2 separate regions of the Homo sapiens genome follow, and region 1 is linked to region 2. The links are contacts of gene promoters, found by promoter capture Hi-C in human tissues and cell types (Jung and others, 2019). All regions are on one chromosome and are shown on one strand. The core of a region is centred on a gene start or on the middle of the fragment in contact, and the rest is flanking DNA. Distances in the headings are between cores, read along the strand shown.

The links. Contacts are between HindIII fragments. The study calls those that stand out against the background at their distance.
Region 1: a contact is called between a fragment that was not itself captured here and the fragment with the promoter of KRTAP1-1 in region 2, in 2 of the 25 tissues and cell types used here (bladder and spleen).

Annotation. Positions count from the first base shown.
Region 1 is chr17:40,854,779-40,858,045 of GRCh38, forward strand. The region is part of intron 1 of LOC105371777 (a long non-coding RNA gene); the gene reads left to right. Among named protein-coding and RNA genes, the nearest start is that of KRT12, 11 kb to the right of the region's middle. RefSeq lists an enhancer at 2,219-2,513. The HindIII fragment of the contact is 6,754 bases long and covers 1-3,267 here.
Region 2 is chr17:41,040,003-41,042,949 of GRCh38, forward strand. It overlaps KRTAP1-1 (keratin associated protein 1-1), which reads right to left and starts at 1,448. Exons shown (of 1, transcript NM_030967.3): 1 at 539-1,448. The coding sequence starts at 1,395. The coding sequence ends at 862. The HindIII fragment of the contact is 12,161 bases long and covers 1-2,947 here.

The DNA of each region.
Region 1 (3,267 bases), core at 582-3,081, 180 kb before region 2:
TATAATTCTGCTATATTATGCTAATTTAAGAAATAAACCCTAAAATCATGCATGACAATTCCCAAGAATGCTAAGCTTTTTTTGAGACGGAGTCTCACTCTGTCGCCCAGGCTGGAATGCAGTGGTGCGATCTCAGCTCACTGCAAGCTCTGCCTCCCGGGTTCACACCATTCTCCCGCCTCAGCCTCCCAAGTAGCTGGGACTACAGGTGCCCGCCACCACGCCCGGATAATTTTCTGTATTTTTAGTAGAGACAGGGTTTCTCTGTGTTAGCCAGGATGGTCTCAATCTCCTGACCTCATGATCTGCCCGCTTCGGCCTCCCAAAGTTCTGGGATTATAGGCGTGAGCCACTGCTCCCAGCCCCAGTTTTTCTTAATTTATTTTATATACTCTGTATTTAGTTGTAGAATCCTCCCCTTCAATTTGAGCAGCTACATTAATATTAGCATTTTAGACAGGCACCGTGGTTTGCACCTTTCATCAGGCATCTGACATTTGACTAAAATGGCAGTAGTCTGAGGTGGGAGGATCACTTGAGCCCAGGAATTTGAGGCTGCAGTGAGCTATGAGCACACCATTGCACTACAGCCTGGGTGACAGAGAGCGACCCCATCTCTGAAGAAAGCACATCTTATAGTTTCAAAGTGCTTTATGGCTTGTTAAGCTCCTTCACAGAAGTTGGCTTATTTGATGCTCACAACTTGTGATAGAGGGAAGATAAATATTATTCCCCCCTCCCCATATGTTGGGTGAGAAAAGTGCACTTTTTTTTTTTACAAAAGTGGAATAATTTAGGATTGTGCATGAAGGGAAGAAAAAGAATAAATATGTCTGGGGGAAATATGTAAACCAGTTCATTTCTTTAGTTGTAGAGAGACTTTTTTTCTTTGCATAATAATAGCAGGTAATATTTAGTGCTTACTATATGCCAAGTGTGAATTGACCCATAGAATTCTCATAATAGGGCGTGAAGCAGGTATCCTTTTTTGCCTTGATTTTAGGGAACAGAGAACTATGGAACAGAGAGGTAAGTAAAACCATTAGAAAGTGCCAGAGCTGGGACCCAAACTCAGGCCTTTGAACTGTGCTTTTAACCTCTATGCTCAGTGGTGTACTGGTGTAAAACAGTTTTCTGGGAAATACATTTTAAAAGCCCAAGTTCCATTTGTGTAAATACTCCCATCATGGCCAATTTCAAGCTGCCCATGGTTTAATAGCCAGCTTGGAAAATTCCTGAATATTTACTGATCAGTGATTAAGAGCCAGCTTGCCCTAGGACACCTTTGACGATCCTACATGGCCTCTCTGCGCCTGTGGACAGTATCATCTGAAGAAAGAATATTCAATTATTATTTTAAAATTGACTATTGAGTTAATATTTACTTACAATGAAATATATTCGTTTTAAATGTGCAGTTTGAAGAGCCTTGCTAAATGGACCCATCACCACAGTCAAGATACGGAACACTTCCATCGGTCCCAAAGGTTCTCAGGTGCCCCTTCCAGGTTAACCAGTTAATTCTCACTCCTCCCACACCTTTCAGCTCAGGTGACCACTGAGCTTATTTCTGTCACTATAGATGAGATTTTATCTTTCTGAAAGTTTCATATAAATGGAATCATACAGTATGTATTCTTTTGTGTCTGGTTTCTTTAGCTCAGCACAATCTTGGATTCAGTTCCAAGATTTAAGAAACATTTACTACCCCATAAAAAAATCATTTACTCAGCTATATGATTAAGAATTTCATTTTCATTTGATATTTGAGTATGTTTTTAAAGCCTGAGTAGTTATTGATTGGCTGGTTTTCTTAACTCTAAATAATTGCTAACTTTCTTTTTCACTTTATGCCTTGTAGAACTGCCTCCTTACTGGTGAACTTTTTGGAAACTAATTATTAGTTAAATAAGACAATTTTAATTTGCTAAGTTGATCGTTGTAAAAGGTTTGCTTTTTTTCTTCTTTCTTGTTTTAAAAGATAAACCTTCTAGTATCAATACATCTCAAGTGGCTTGAACACACAGGCTTAGCTTATTTTTATTTTATTTTATTTTATTTTTTGAGACGGAATCTTGCTCTGTTGCCCAGGCTGGAGTGCAGTGGTGTGATCTTGGCTCACTGCAACCTCCGCCTCCTGGGTTCAAGCTATTCTCCTGCCTCAGCCTCCCTAGTAGCTGGGACTACAGGCGCACGCCACCACTCCTGGCTAATTTTTGTATTTTTAGTAGAGATAGGGTTTCGCCATGTTAGCCAGGCTGGTCTCGAACTCCTGACCTCAAGTGACCCACCTGCCTTGGCCTCCCAAAGTGCTGGGATTACAGGCATGAGCCACCGCGCCCAGCCAGGTTAGTTTATTTTAAAGTTCATTTCTTGAGACTCCAGAAGATGGCACTCTTACAAAGCCTAAAGAAATAAAGCTTTGGCTTTGTTTTTCTACGTGGTTGTTTTTCTAGGTGGTTCCTTCCTGCTGTGACCCATTTGCAAAGCCATTTGTTTGGGAGAATAACATTTATTTTTTTTTCTGATTATCAGAGTCATATATGCTGTTTGTTAAACATTTTAATAAAGGTATTCTTCAAACCCCTTGCTAATCCCCAAGAGATAACTACTATAACAGTTCAGTATATATACAGTATTTTCCAGACCTTCCACTAGCTTTTACACACAACATATGCATATCAAAGTAAAAATTTAAATTTGTAAAATTTTAGATTTTAGGATAATCATAAACAATGTACTTGTCTTTTGCTATAGGATTCTTTATTCAGTTTTTTTTTCTTAGGAGTTCTTTTCTTTAAAGACAGACCTTCCACTTCTGCAATTCATTACTTGCCGAGTCCAAAGGGACCTCTCACATCTGTGTTGAATTAGGGCTTGTGGCCTAGTGAATGAGGGATAGACTCTCATGATAAGGATGCTGCTATGGTCTGAAAGTTTTTGTCCCCCCATATTTGTATGTTGAGACCTAATCACCAATGACCCAGTATTAGGAGGTGGGGTTTTCGAGAGTGGATTAGGTCATGAGGGTGGAGCCCTGGCGAAGGGGATTATTGTCCTTATAAATGAGGCCCTGGGGCATTGCTTTGTCCCTTCTGCCATGTGAGGATATATCGAGAAGCTGTGTATGATCCAGAAAGCGGGTCCTTATCAGACAGTGAAGCTGCCTCCAGAACTGTGAGAAATAAGTTTCTCTCATTTTTAAGCCACGCGGTCCGAGGTATTTTGTTCTAGCCGCCCGAAGGGACTGATAGATGCTGTGCTAGT
Region 2 (2,947 bases), core at 198-2,697:
TGAGCGAGAGCGAGAGAGAGAGAGATTCTGTTTTCTGAGGCCTGCTTCTGAAGTGTAAAGTGCCCTAACATCAATAAAAGGGCTATGGGAGTTATGAGCCTAGACCTTGAATGAAATGTGTATATTCGTTACATGCTATTACTCTGTAATCTTGTGTTTGTATTCTTTCACAATTTTTATTATGCTTTTGTATATCTTGGAGGACAGAAATAATTGTATACAACCTCATATATGAATGGATGAATGAATAGATTTGGCAAAACCTCAAGAAGCTGAATCAATCTGTTGGAATACCTAGCCCACCACTTTGCACATGAGAGGACCTTAGGAAACAGTTCCTAAATGTTGTCAAGTTCCTTTAATCATATGTCTTGGCTGCAAAATATTGGACCATTTAATGGTAAAACAAAGGAAAATTGCTGTTAAATATCATCATTAAAAGAGCAAAAGTACAGAAAAACCATAGTGTCATGTCATGTTGATATTTTGAAAAATCCCAGTACCCCAATATTGTTAATAAATTCCAAAGCAAAGAAAGTTCAAACAACAACTTCATCATTGAAGAGATGAAAACTTTTATTAAATTTAAGTCCCAATAACTGTTGAAATATTTCAGGTGATATTTATAGTAAAATAGTATCTAACTCTTTTCACATTGTAGGACTTTGGCTGACAACCAGGTCTAGGAAAAATTTTTGGTCTTCCATTGTAAATGAATTTACTTCCTAGGGAATTTATGTGGCTGTGTGATGAGAGGTTGCAAGCCCAGTTATAGGTACTGGAGTTCAGAAGATTGTTAGGATTCTAATTTGGCTAGTTTTAAGGTGCCATCTTATCAGGATCCCCAGCAGAAGGAGGTTTTCAACAAGTGGGCTCAGAGCAGTAGCAGCAGCAGACTGGGCGGCAACAGGACTGTCCACAGTAGGATGGGCGGCAGCAGGAGGCCTCGGCGTGGTGCAGCTGGCAGCAGGATGGGGGTGTGCAGCTCACCACGCAGCAGGGGGGCAGGCAGGTACCCTCCACACGGCAGTCTGGGCGGCACCACCTGATACGGGTGCTCACAGCTCCACTGCTGCCCTCCTGGCCATAGCCAATGCCACCACCAATGCCACAGCCAGTTCCGCAGGAGCTGGTCTGGTAGCAGCTTGGCTGGCAGCAGCTAGTTTCACAGCAGCTTGGCTGGCAGCAGCTAGAGTCACAAGTCCCACCGGTTGAGAAGCTAGGAAATCCACAGAAGCTGGTCTGGCAGCAGCTTGGCTGGCAGCAGCTGGTCTCACAGCAGCGTGGCTGGCAGGAGCTGGTCTCACAGCAGCTTGGCTGGCAGCAGCTGGAGCCGCAGGTCCCACTGGTGGAGCAGCTGGGAAATCCACAGAAGCTGGTCTGACAGCAGGCCATGGTGTCAGGAGTTGATCTGAAGGTTGGGTTGCTTGGAGGAGTTTCTGAATTATGGCTGCCTATTCCACTGCCGGCTTTTTATAAGTCTGGGCCAATTCCTCTATTTGTGGCGAGCAACATTTTTATCTTGTTACTCTTTAAACCAGCCTTTCTAGGGCCCTCTGATGGTTCAAATGCTGAATTGTTTTAAATATATCTCAAAATTGATTTTTCCTTATTGCTCAGCTAATACTCACCAAATGTGTTTGTCCTTGGTAAAAATGTTAACATTTTGTTTACAAACAATGGTATAATTTCCACTTGAGCTTCAGCTTCAGGTTTGCACTTGTGGGTATATCACCTGACAAAGTGACTCTCACCCATAAGGTGATGTGATTTTGGAGATCATATTCACCAAACCTCAGGTCTCCAGAAAAGAATTATTAATCATGATTGCCCTTATGTAAGACTGCTTTGTATTTTTTAGACTAATAAGATTATCCTCTCTCGATATAATCTTATTAGCCAGATAGAAACTCTGATAAACTCTATATTCATAGAAATTCATAGATTTTTCCCTGAAATGGAATCTTTCCAATTTCTGTGATATCTCCTGAACTTCACATTCATATTTTAGGAAACATTGATCACTCAGGAGGATATATAAAACAAAACCTGTTCAATTTCAATGTCTCTTAAAAAAGAGGCTAAAATTCATATTCAGTAATTGGAAAAAATTGCAAAATATTTTAACAAAATTTACACTTCTCTATGAAAGACAAAAATCACTTGTATATGGATTATCTGGCATATAATTTTTCAAAGGCAGAATTTAATTTTAATTTATGTCATTTCAAGTTACTAAACCATGTGTCCTGTGAAAAGATATTAGACCAAAGAGCATGACAACTGAATTTAGGAAAGGGAATAAATCAAAGAAAAAGCAAGAGTTAGAAAATACTTTTATCTGCTTTATAAGGCAGGTTAGAAAATGGGTGACCAAATATAGTTCAAGAGGTGTAGTATAATAAATGCAAAGAGATTAAGAAAAATTTCAGCAAAATAAAAGTTAAAACAATTCCTGGTCATTGCCAGAAGAAAGAATGTAATTTTCACTGGGAGTTTAGGGTTACGTGAGATAAATGAAAAAAGGCTGGTCAAAAACATATTATTTCTACTTGGGGTAGGTTTATTTCTCCCTTCCAATCATGAATAGAAACACATAGTTAGCTTTTTATGAGGTGGTGGCATTTGTTTGTACAGGAATGGGGTTATATCACAATGTGATTCATGCCAGCTTCAGTAAAGATGTTCACGTCATATGGTAACCATGACTGTAGGTATGAAGTTGAAAATGGTTATATGTAATCAATGAATGTTGGAGATCAAAAATGTAGTAAATTATCTTGTTCCACCACTTAATTTTATAGGTGTAGAAACTGACATCATTCTTATTATAAATAGCACATATTTATTAACTTCTACTATGCCCAGAGCACTAAAGGCTTATACAGAAAGCAAGATCCCATCTATTTGTTTTGTATCTTGCTCTAGTATAAAAATCAGTGTAGTA